2 separate regions of the Homo sapiens genome follow, and region 2 is linked to region 1. Evidence: promoter capture Hi-C in human tissues and cell types (Jung and others, 2019). All regions are on one chromosome and are shown on one strand. Each heading gives the region's core, a stretch centred on a gene start or on the middle of the fragment in contact. The rest is flanking DNA. Distances are from core to core; before and after follow the strand shown. Region 1 holds the start of HEXIM2 (HEXIM P-TEFb complex subunit 2). Region 2 overlaps KANSL1 (KAT8 regulatory NSL complex subunit 1).

Region 1 (5,536 bases), core at 2,071-4,570:
AGTGGCTTGGGCCAAATAAGACAGAGCTGTTGCCCCAGCTGGGACAGGCAAGGCCACTGGGATGCCAAGGCATGGTGGCTTGTTGGTGTGCACAATCAGTCACATGCTCCCAGCCCTCAGTAGAAGTGCCCTATTGATCCTCCACCCTCACCCAAGCGAGCCCAGCCCCCTAGCCCTACCTGCTGCCTCCCTCCTGAAGACTTGGCCCTCTACCACCATGACCACTACTGTAGATAAGCTGTGTGACCTGGCTGAACATTGTAGCCCTGACATGTCATGAATTCCGAATTCAGTCAATCCAGAAAACACGGAATGGGCTAGGCAGGGTGGGTCAGAAGCTCTCTGACCTCTGTCCTAAGCCCCCTGCTCATCTATAGGGAGTCGTGGACTAAGGAAGAATGGGTAAGGGCAGGTACTGAGAGAACATGGGCCGAACAAGCATGGGTTCCTGTTGCCAGGTTGGGAAGTGCCATCCTCTGAGGGCCTGATATGATCTTTCTCTCTCCTCTTTCGTGGGTTATATCCTACCCCCACCTCCATTACAAATTATTATTATTTTTGAGAAAGTCTGACTTTGTCACCCAGGCTGGAGTGCAGTGGCATGATCTCAGCTCAGTGCAACCTCTGCCTCCTGGGTTCAAGTGATTATCATGCCTCAGCCTCCCAAGCAGCTGGGATTACAGGCATGCACCACCACGCCGGGCTAATTTCAGGTTTTTTTGTTTTTTTGGTTTTTTTTTGAGACGGAGTCTCGCTCTGTTGCCCAGGCTGGAGTGCAGGGGCGTGATCTCAGTTCACTGCAAACTCCGCCTCCCAGTTTCAAGCGATTCTCCTGCCTCAGCCTCCCAACTAGCTGGGATTATAGAAATGTGCCACCACGCCTGGCTAATTTTGTATTTTTAGTAGAGATGGGGTTTCTCCATGTTGGTCAGGCTGGTCTCGAACTCGTGACCTCAGGTGATCCGCCCACCTCGGCCTCCCAAAGTGCTGGGATTACAGGCGTGAGCCACTGCACCCGGCTTCCAGCATTTTTTTTTTTTTGAGAGAGTTTTGTTCTTGTTGCCCAAGCTGGAGTGCAATGGCACAATCTCAGCTCACTGCAACTTCTGCCTCATGGGTTCAAGTGATTCTCCTGCTTCAGCCTCCTGAGTCGCTGGGATTACAGCCGCCTGTCATTACGCCCATCTAATTTTTGTATTTTTAGTAGAGACAGAGTTTCACCATGTTGGCCAGGCTGGTCTTGAACTCTTGACCTCAGGTGATCCACCCACCTCAGCCTCCAAAAGTGCTAGGATTACAGGCGTGAGCCACTGCGCCTGGCCTGTTTTTGTTTTTGTTTCTTTTTTGAGATGGAGTGTCACTCTGTCGCCCAGGCTAAAGTGCAGTGGTGTGATCTCAGCTCACTGCAACCTCTGCATCCTGGGTTCAAGTGATTCTGGTGCATCAGCCTCCTGAGTAGCTGGTATTACAGGCATGTGCCACCATGCCCAGCTAATTTTTGTATTTTTAGTAGAGATGAGGTTTCACCATGTTGGCCAGGCTGGTCTTGAACTTCTGGTCTCAAGTGAATTGCCTGCCTGGGTCCATTCCAAATTATGAACCAAAAACTCTTCTTCCTGCTTCAGACTTGGTTCTTAGCCTGGACAAAATGTAAACATTCAACCCAGTCCCTCCATGCCCTCTTTGGACTTGAGGTCAAGGCAATGTTCTGTTGTCAGAAGGCCCTAAGTTTAAACCCTGGGTCTGTTGCTTGTAGATAGCATGATTCTGGAACAGGTATTTCAGGTCTCAGAACCTTAGCTTCTGGGAATTGGAAATAATTCCTACCTGAAAGGGTTACTAGGATTTTTTTTTTTTTTTTTTTTTTTTGAGACGGAGTCTCGCTCTGACGCCCAGGCTGGAGTGCAATTGCGAGATCTTGGCTCACTGCAACCTCCGACCCCTGGGTTCAAGCGATTCTCCTGCCTCAACCTCCCAAGTAGCTGGGATCACAGGCATGCGCCACCACTATGCCAGGCTAATTTTGCATTTTCAGTACAGCCAGGGTTTTGCCATGTTGGTCAGGCTGGTCTCGAACTCCTGACCTCAGGTGATCCACCCACCTAGGCCTCCCAAAGTGCTGGGATTACAGGTGTGAGCCACCGCACCCGGCCAGTTACTAAGATTTCATCAGCTAGCATAGACTGGGATTCCGGCCTATTGCCTAGTGCATAGTACTGATTCGTCAAAATACTGGTTTTCCAAATCTACCAACACATCTGGGACAAGAAGTTTGGATCTCAGCTGTGGGACCCGTGCTCGTGGTGCTTGGGTGGGCAGGAGGGCAGGGACTTACCTTGGCCTCCTCCAGGGCCACTGGTGACTCTGCATTACAGGCGGTCTGGTTCGGAGTGGCCATCATCTTCTGTTCCAAATCTTTCAGCAGACGCCTGGAACTAGTGACACCTGCTTTGAACAACAACAGAAACCTAAATCCTGAAGGAACGTCAGGAATACTCTGGCTGCCCAGAATTGTTTGCCCAGGCAGTGGCAGCCATTTTGTACCCCAGCCCTTCATACCCTTATTCTCAAATGCAGGCCCCGAAGGCTGCCTCCACCGCTGGTTTTCACACCTCCAGCCAGCAAGGGGCCAAATGGGATTCAGGGGCCGTCTTCTCTGTCCTGCTCCTCGGGTCCCTCACCAGGACTCATGTCCTGTACTGTCCTCCTGGAAGTCACCGAGGCCCAGGTTGGCAGCCAGGAAGCCAGGTGTAAGTTTTGTTTCCCCAACCACCAAAGGGGCAAAGGAGGACTGCCTGGGGAGGCTGGGAGTGCAGCGGGGCTGCTGCTGCCACGGGAGAACATGGAGCAAGCTCACGAGTCCTTCCCCACTGTCTCCAGTGGCCCCAATCTTGATGCAGCCCTGCACCCCCAACCTTCTCCCCAAGCTGGGCTCCAAAGGCCAGAAGCACAGCTGGGACCTGGGCCAGCCTAGTGCTGAGGACTTTTCCTCTAAGGTCCTGGCCTGCCTCCCTCCTTCCTCTCAGAAAGGGAAACAGGAGAAAAGGGGAAAGAGGTCTTTGCACTACATGCAGCTGGGAGGGAAACCCAACTAGGATAAGGATGGATTTCTTGGAAGAAGGGAGACAGTCATGGAAAGAGGTTTTGCAAAGGTGGAACTGACCTATTCGCTGTCAAGGGCTATGCACACCACTACATCTGTGTGCCTTTCTGTGCGACTGCCTGTCGGTGCAATTCCCAACGCCTGAGCCCTACCTCTTGCTGCAGTTGCAGCAGCTCTGGTCAAGCCGCTCAGGCCACTAAGATGGGGGGGAAGAGAGAGCCTGGACGCGCGGTGCCTGCTGGGGATTGTAGTTCTTCTGGCCTGAAAAGCGATCCAAGGGCCTGTAACGTCAACAGCCACACCCGAGACTCCAAAACCCATCTACCCTTGCGCGGGGGCAGACCGCGCGCGCATCACTGCCTTCTTTGATTGGTCAAGCCTTCTGCCAATATTCTCGCTTTTTTGGCAACGATTAGCTGTGAGGAGGCACAACTGGACCCGCCTTCTCCGAACTCAATTAAAGAGTTCATTGATGGCGTTAATCTTTACGGGGCAGAAAATAGATCCGGCTAAGGTGGGCGGGGCAGCAGGCGCGGAGGGATCCTTGGCCTTTGAGGAAGGCGACGAGAAGCTCGGCGGCCATCGCCGCCATTTTGGGCTGGGAGGAGGCAGCGGAGGGACTCGCTGCGCAGTGAGAGCACCCCGTGGGGGGTGGTCCGGGCGCGGGGAGAGGCCGGGCCGAGTGGGCTACCTGAAGTGGCGGCGCCGGGAGACGGCGGGAAGTGGGACCGGGGGCCAGGGAGGGTGAAGGTTGGAGTCTCCTCGGCCGAGCCCGGTCCTCAAACCGTCCCGGCAGCCCCGCAGCCTCGCCTCTCACAGAGTGCGGGGTTCTTCGGTAATTACCGCGTGTTTCCCGAGACCCCAGAAGGGGAGAGGCTGGTGAAACGGCTTCCCTCTGCGGTCTTTCCACAGGGGCGCGGATCCTGAGGCCGAGCTCTGCCAGCTTCCCTCCCCACCCCCATTCGGCCTGGGTATGGCGGCGAGGCCCCGCACAGAGGGACTCCCACTTCGACTGGAGAGGTGGGGGCGACGCCAGATTCCAGAGGCTGGCGCCGCGGGGGAGGGCGGAGGTCGCAGGTCTGGCCACAAGTCGGCGTGGCAGTCAGCTGGAGGCTCCGAGAGCGGAGATCCCAGTGCACCCACCTTACCTCGCTTACACCAAAGCGCCATCTCGCCGCCCGGGTTGCGAAAAACCACGACCCTCTTAAACTACTGTAGCAACCACTAATTCCCCCTGGGAGCAGCTAGAGAGGGGCACTTGGAAACCTTCACGAGCTCGGTGCCTGAAGGTCTCTGAGGCTCTTGCCCTCAAGATCTCTCCCATTCAGCCCCGATTCTCCGGACAACCTGACCTAGCATGTCGCCAGCCTCTTGGTGAAACGCCTAAAGTGTGCTGCCCCACTTCTCTTGAAAGTTTACACCGAAGGGATGAGGTTTTGCCCTTTACAGGGTTGGGGCACAAAGTCGGAGTCGCTGCGGCTCCGAAATAGAAACGGAGTTGCCCATTTCGTATGCTTCATCAACATCTGCTTGCATTTTGAAATCCTAGTCTTAACTTTTACACAACTTTTAGAGAAATGGCTGCCCTCCTAGAGGGAAAAACGAACTACAGTAATTCCAATTCCAATGTAATCTTTGTAAGACTACAAAATCTTTCCAGTTTAAAGATTTTTCTTTTCCCACAGACTAAACAAAGTCAGAGTATTTTGTGTTCTACTGGTGCATTGTTACTAGGTAACCTCAATTTTTTGAAATTCCAAGTAATTGAAGGATCACTTTTGTAGATCCTAAATGCTACCAAAAAAGAAACCAGTTTTTATCTACTTCATATGTATAGCGTTTAAGAGATGAGGAGACCTGCTTTGAAAGAATAAACTCTTAACCTTACATTATAGCTGTAGCAGCTTCTTAAAGATTGAAGTTTGATGTGAAGTTCTTTTATTGAATTGCAGGTTAAACCATCTTACTTCCTACTGCTTGAAATCTAAATCCAGAGAGATTTGTGGCTCAAGGATATCTTCAAATAAAAGTTTTATTGCTAAAATGTCAGTTAAAATTATGCCTAGGTAGGTGCTGAAGTAGGAGAGGCTTTGACGTAGCAGAGTGACTGGCAGTGAATTTTGTGGGTACCTTGTGATGAGTCTTATTATCAGTTACAAATGGTCAAAACATGCCTAAGCCTTCAGCCTTACTAAAAGTTTAACAGAACTTGGCCTGGCGCGGTGGCTCACACCTGTAATCCCAGCCCTTTGGGAGGTGGAGGCGGGTGGATCACCTGAGGTCAGGAGTTTGAGACCAACCTGGCCAACATGGTGAAGCCCCTTCTCTACTAAAAATACAAAATTAGCCGGGTGTGGAGTTGCGTGCCTGTAATCCCAGCTACTCGGGAGGCTGAGGCAGGAGAATCGCTTGAACCCAGGAGGCAGAGTTTGC
Region 2 (6,136 bases), core at 428-2,927, 1.0 Mb before region 1:
TTTTATATATACATATACATATATATGTGTGTGTATATATATATGTATATACTTTTTATTTTTCAGAGACTCGATCTCGCTATGTTGACCAGGCTGGTCTCAAACTCCTGGCCTCAAGCAATCCTTTTGCCTTGGCCTCCCAGAGTGCTGGGATTACATGTCTGAGCCGCTGCACCTGGCCTCTGCTGTCTTTGTTTGTTTGTTTTTGTTTTTGAGACAGAGCCTCTCTTTGTCGCCCTGGCTGAAATGCAGTGGCTCAATCTTAGCTCATTGCAGCCTCTGCCTCCTGGGTTCAAGTGATTCTCATGCCTCAGCCTCCCTAGTAGCTGGGACTACAGGCACCTGCCATCATGCCCGGCTAAATTTTTTATTTTTATTTTTATTATTTATTTCTTTTTTTGAGATGGAGTCTCACTTTTGTCACCCAGGCTGGAGTGCAATGGTGCGATCTCGGCTCACTGCAACCTCTGCCGCTCAGGTTTCAGCGATTCTCCTACCACAGCTTCCCGAGCAGCTGGGATTACAGGTGCCCGCCACCACACCCAGCTGATTTTTTTGTATTTTTATTAGAGGCGGGTTTTCACCACGTTGGCCAGGCTGGTTTCAAACTCCTGACCTCAGGTGATCCACCCGCCTCAGCCTCCCAAAGTGCGGGGATTGCAGGCGTGAGCCACTGTGCCTGGCCCCTCTACTGTCTTTAAGTCTGAATTAAGGCTATTAAAGGCTGTCCGTTAAGGATCTGGCTTCAAACTGCCTTTCCACCTTCATTCTACTATTTCCTCTATTAAAATATGCTTTGTGTTTTAAGCAAATTGTTAATTTTTTTTTTTTTTTAAGATGGAGTCTCGCTCTTGTTACCCAAGCTGGAGTGCAGTGGCCCGATCTCAGCTCACTGCAACCTCTGCCTCCTGGGTTCAAGCAATTATCCTGTCTCAGTCTTCCAAGTAGCTGGGAGTACAGGTGCGCGCCTCCACACCCGGCTAATTTTTGGTAATTTTAGTAGAGATGGGGTTTCGCCATGTTGGCCAGGCTGGTCTCCTGATCTCAGGTGATCTACCCGCCTCAGCCTCCCAAAGTCCTGGGATTATAGGCATGAGTCACTGCGCCCGGCCCAAATTGTTCATTTCTTTTAACCTTCAGAATGTCGCCTTTTCCCACACAGCGTTGCCTTTTCTTATGCCATTTCCTCTCACTAGAATGCCACATTACCATTCTCTTGTCCTAGCCTTTTGCATAATGACATTTTAGCTAATTTTCAAGTCTCAGCTAAAATTGCGGCAACTTCATGGACACTTCCCTAATCATCCTTCCTGCTGTTTCTTTCCGTCCTTTGTGTAGAGAAATGAGGTAATGGTGAAGGAAGAGGTTAGTAGAAGCCACATTATGGGCAAACTTTTCTTCCCCATCTGATTTTTGCTTTTGCTTTCAGTGCAAGTGTGGTTGTAATACTTGTTGGCCACCTGGATGACCTATTCCTTCCCCTTTGTTCTCTGCAGCTAAATATTTTTGCAAGGTGGATGCTTCCAGGTTATTCTTGTGTATCTGGAGTCTTGTCTTGGAAATTGACTGGGAATAAATGAGGTTTTCATTTGTGGGTGTGGAGTTAGTTCTGACTTACAGTATTTGAAGCAGCTGGATACGTTTTGCTTTTGAAAGAGTATATATATGTGTGTGTATAATCTTTAGGATATGGTTCTCTGTTGGGAGGTGTGATGTTGAACCCCCCAGCTCCCATATTTGACATGTCTGGAGACATTTTTGATTGTCATAATTTTCAGAAGGGCACTACTAGCATCTAGTGGGTGGAAAACAGAGATGTTGCTAAACATGCTACTGCCAGGATAGCCCCCTGTGATAGATTACTCATCGTGAGATGTCAGTTAGTGGTTAGGTTGAGAAACTCTATCCTAGAAGTATATTTTTGCTTCCCAAGTGCCACTTGTGTTAGGTAGAAGTTTGTCCTTGGACCGATGGTGCAATTTAGAATAATAGAATTAACATAGGAAGGGACCCTAGAGGTCACATATTTGAACTTTATCCCAACTTGTATTTCTCACAATGATGTTTCTGCTTGATATTAATAGATGTAATGGAAAAAGGTGCTTGTTAAAAAAGTTTGGTAAAGGTAAACATTTGCATATTCAGTATGATGCAATACGTTGTGAGTCTCCATCTGGGAAGTTTTTCCGAAATGTATTTGCTTGCTGAGTGCATTTAACATCTTCCAGACCCTAAAATACTTCTTTGAAACTGAGAGAGAAACTATTGATTATCTAGCCCAACCTTTTATAGCTAAATGACCTTGAATAGGTAGCCTTTTCTTTTATCTGTACAAGCTTACTGCAGAATCTCAATTTGTGTGAGTGACAGCAGGTGTAGCAGCTCCATCTGTATTTGTCAGATTATAGTTTACTAACTGAATGAACTAAAAATTGGGATATTTGGGGCTTGAATTTTTATTCTGAATGTACAGTCTGACTTTATCCCCACCGGTAAATTAGAAATTATAATCTCAGCCCTAATTCTACTGCCCAGGTTGTTATGAGGATTAATCAGTTAATTATAGCTTTTAAGGCTTTGTATTCTTTGGAGAAAGATGATTTATCAGATAGGCTGTTGTGCTGTTTGTGTAGAACTGCTTCCTTTTTTTGTTTTTCGTTTTTTTTTCCTTTAGCCCTGAGCTTCTCTAAGAACTGCTTAAATTTGACAGTCTTTCCCTGCTTTACATTGTCAAAGATTGAAGCTTTTTGAATTTTGTAGGGGTCAAGTGGGATAGGAATCATTGTTTTGCTCTGTATATTAAATTTAAGAATGTTACTATGGGCCGGGCGTGGTGGCTCATGCCTGTAATCCCAGCACTTTGGGAGGCCAAGGTGGGCAGATCACGAGGTCAGGAGATGGAGACCATCCTGGCTAACATGGTGAAACCCTGTCTCTACTAAAAATACAAAAAACTAGCTGGGCGTGGTGGCGGACGCCTGTAGTTCCAGCTACTGGGGAGGCTGAGGCAGGAGAATGGCGTGAACCCGGGAGGTGGAGCTTGCAGTGAGCTTAGATCACGCCACTGCTCTCCAGCCTGGGTGACAGAGCGAGACTCCATCTCTTAAAAAAAAAAAAAGAATGTTACTGTGATTTTGTTTTACTTAGTTATTGGCTCTTTAAGAATTTCCATTGTTTTCTTTTTGTTTCTCTCCATTTTATTATAGAAGTAATACATGTTTATGGTGGAGACTTTACATAAGCCAAGAAACAAAAGACAAAAGAATCTTAACCAATGACTTTTTAAAGCAAAATTGAGATGATACTGTGTTTTGTTTTGTAACTTTTTTTCATTTAATAATGAAGCAAGCACTTTTCTATGTTAGTAAATATAGCTCTGCCACACTTAGGGTTGCACAGTATTCCATTGTATGGATATTTAATAATTTAACCGAGTTTTTGGCATTCAGTTTTCTTTTTATTATAAACAACATCATGAAATATTAAAAGTAAGTCTAGACATAACAGGGAAAAGATTAAAGTACTAAACTTAGGTGGTGGTTTATGGCAATTGTAGCTAATTGCAAACTAGGTGCATTAAAAAGCCATGGAAATTCATTCCTTCTATGTTTCCTTTTTGTTTCCAGTGTAATAAAAGTGCAAATAATACTGGGTGGTTGCTCCAGGTACGTGGCCAAGTAATTGAAAGTATCTTATTTCATCATCATAGCATCCTTGTCGGGAAGGCTCTGTTACTTGTAGATGAGGAGACTTAAAGAACAGAATAGTTAAGTAACCTACAGGAGGTGGAGCCAGGATGGGAACTGAGATTTGCTCACTTGAGTCAGTGCTCCTCTTACTTATGAATATCTTTGGGAGTAATGTTGAATCTTAGCATAGTATTTCGAGTCAATAAAGGTATGTCAAGTCAATAAATGGTATTTCTTTGGTATAGAAATCTCAAGATTTAGGAATTAGGAATGGGAATTTTTTCGGAAAAAGTGGTCACTTTTTCCTGTTCTCTGCACTCTCTCTCCTCCCCCACCCCCTTACTTAGATGATTGTTTTAGTAACTACACTATGCTGTGTATCCTATGGGGATATTGAGACCAAGGATAAAGTGCAAATCAAATAAACTATTGTCTTTGAAGTGTATATGTTAATGTCAAGTTCATAGACATCATTTCAGAGAAGTCTTGGAGTAGATGGGATTTTTTTTTTTTTTTTTAAGATGGAGTCTTGCTCTTGTTGCCCCGGCTGGAGTGCAGTGGTGCAATCTTGGCTAATTGCAACCTCTGCTGCCTGGGTTCAGGTGATTCTCATGTCTCAGCCTCCCAGGTAGCTGGGATTACAGGCGCTCGCCGCCACACTCAGCTGATTTTTGTATTTTTAGTAGAGACAGGGTTTCACCATGTTGACCAGGCTGGTCTTGAACTCCTGACCTCAGGTGATACGCCTGCCTCGGCCTCCCAAAATGCTGGGATTACAGGCGTGAGCCACTGTGCCCAGCTGGAGTAGATGGGATTTAAGCCGGCATTTTTTCTTAAAGTTGTAAGCTTTAAAGAATTGAATAATCTCAGAATAACTTTGAGAAGTTTACTACTTAAGCACCTTCTGTGATGTGATGTTAATTATGACCCTCTTTTTCATTTGTGCTGGAGTGAGCCTGGGTTTTCCTAAGTTTTATGTAAGTCATAAAGCATATTTGTGCCCTTGCTTGGGTCCTCAGAGGGAAGCTGTTTCCTGCCCTTGCTAAGTCTTACTGTAGTGCTGTCAGGCAGTAGGGTACAATTACTCTTCACATGTTGTATTAATCATCTGGCACTGATAATATGCCTCCTTGCATTGCTCATATCAACTACATATTGACATTCAAAAGGGGAGGAGATTGAATTGATGGGAATTATCTGGTAGTGATTTTCGTTTGTCCATGGGAAAAACCCTTTGCATATTATAAAAGTGACTCAAAATATTTTTAACAACTATATTGGTCCAGCTGTCAACTGGTCTATAACACAATGTTTAATAACAGGAATTAGTACTGTCAACTGGTCTGTAACACAATGTTTAATAATATATTAGTAATTAGTATTATATTTAAAGTTAGAAATGGGAAAAGACAACATAGAATAATTTGTGCCACACAGAATGCCATATGCCAGAAAGCCCACAGGAGAAAACTACATAAGCCCTGAAAATCTAGTTCATAAAGAGTGTTGGTTAAAATACAACCCTGGAACAAGAAACTTTTGGTGTTAATAATTATATGAGGCCAGGCACAGTGGATCACACCTGTAATCCTAGCACTTTGGGATGCTGAGGCAAGCGGATCACCTGAGGTCAGGAGTTTGAGACCAGCTTGGCCAACGTGGTGAAACTCCATCTCCATTAAAAATACAAAAATTATCTGGGCATGGTGACACATGCCTGAAGTCCCAGCTACTCGGGAGGCTGAAGCAGGAGAATCACTCCAACACAGGAGGCGGAGGTTGCAGTGAGCCGAGATCACGCCACTGCACTCCAGCCTGGGCGACAGAGCGAGACTACATCTCAGAAACACACACACACACACACACACACACACACACACACACACACACACACACACAGCAATAAGACAGATTCGACCCATATGTATATTGGTGCTTTTATGAATAATGTTTTCTCAGTCATTTATTTGAGTATTTTTATGTTAATGATTCAAATTGTCATACTATAAAGAAGCTTACTGTGGTCCTGTAGGGCCTACCATCCTGTGTTGGTATTGCTCCAAAGATAAGCATTTTTGATTAAATTGGAGATTGCCCTCATTTGGGGCAGGGAGGGGGGTGCTTAGTCCAGTGATTTCACAAGCATTTTGGTCTCAGGACCCTTTTTTAACTCTTAAAATTTGTTGAGAACAGCAAATAAATTGTTTTTCTTATAAACTTTGAGAAATTTAAAAAATATTTAATAAGTAATTCAGGCTGGGCATGGCGGCTTATGCCTATAATCCCAGGAGTTTGGAAGGCTGAAGCTGGGAGTTTGATAGCAGCCTGGGCAACAAAATGAAATTCCATCTCTACAAAAATTCAAAAAATTAGCCGGGCATGGTGGCACACACCTATAGTCCCAGCTACTAGGAGGCTGATGCAGGAGGATCACTTGAGCCCAGGAG

What was found. The method cuts DNA at HindIII sites, captures the fragments that hold promoters and counts their contacts. A contact is called where the count stands out against the background at its distance.
Region 2: a contact is called between a fragment that was not itself captured here and the fragment with the promoter of HEXIM2 in region 1, in 1 of the 25 tissues and cell types used here (dorsolateral prefrontal cortex).

What each region holds. Positions count from the first base shown.
Region 1 is chr17:45,159,659-45,165,194 of GRCh38, reverse strand. It overlaps HEXIM2 (HEXIM P-TEFb complex subunit 2), which reads right to left and starts at 3,320. Exons shown (of 4, transcript NM_001303441.2): 1 at 3,164-3,320; 2 at 2,560-2,707; 3 at 2,336-2,445. The coding sequence starts at 2,401. It overlaps HEXIM2-AS1 (HEXIM2 antisense RNA 1), which reads left to right and starts at 3,657. Exons shown (of 3, transcript NR_186789.1): 1 at 3,657-3,734. RefSeq lists enhancers at 3,081-3,210, 3,221-3,420, 2,838-3,453, 3,571-3,800, 3,454-4,069 and 1 more. The HindIII fragment of the contact is 41,438 bases long and covers 1-5,536 here.
Region 2 is chr17:46,174,763-46,180,898 of GRCh38, reverse strand. All of the region lies in intron 1 of KANSL1 (KAT8 regulatory NSL complex subunit 1), which reads left to right. Among named protein-coding and RNA genes, the nearest start is that of KANSL1, 16 kb to the left of the region's middle. The HindIII fragment of the contact is 3,924 bases long and covers 1-3,639 here.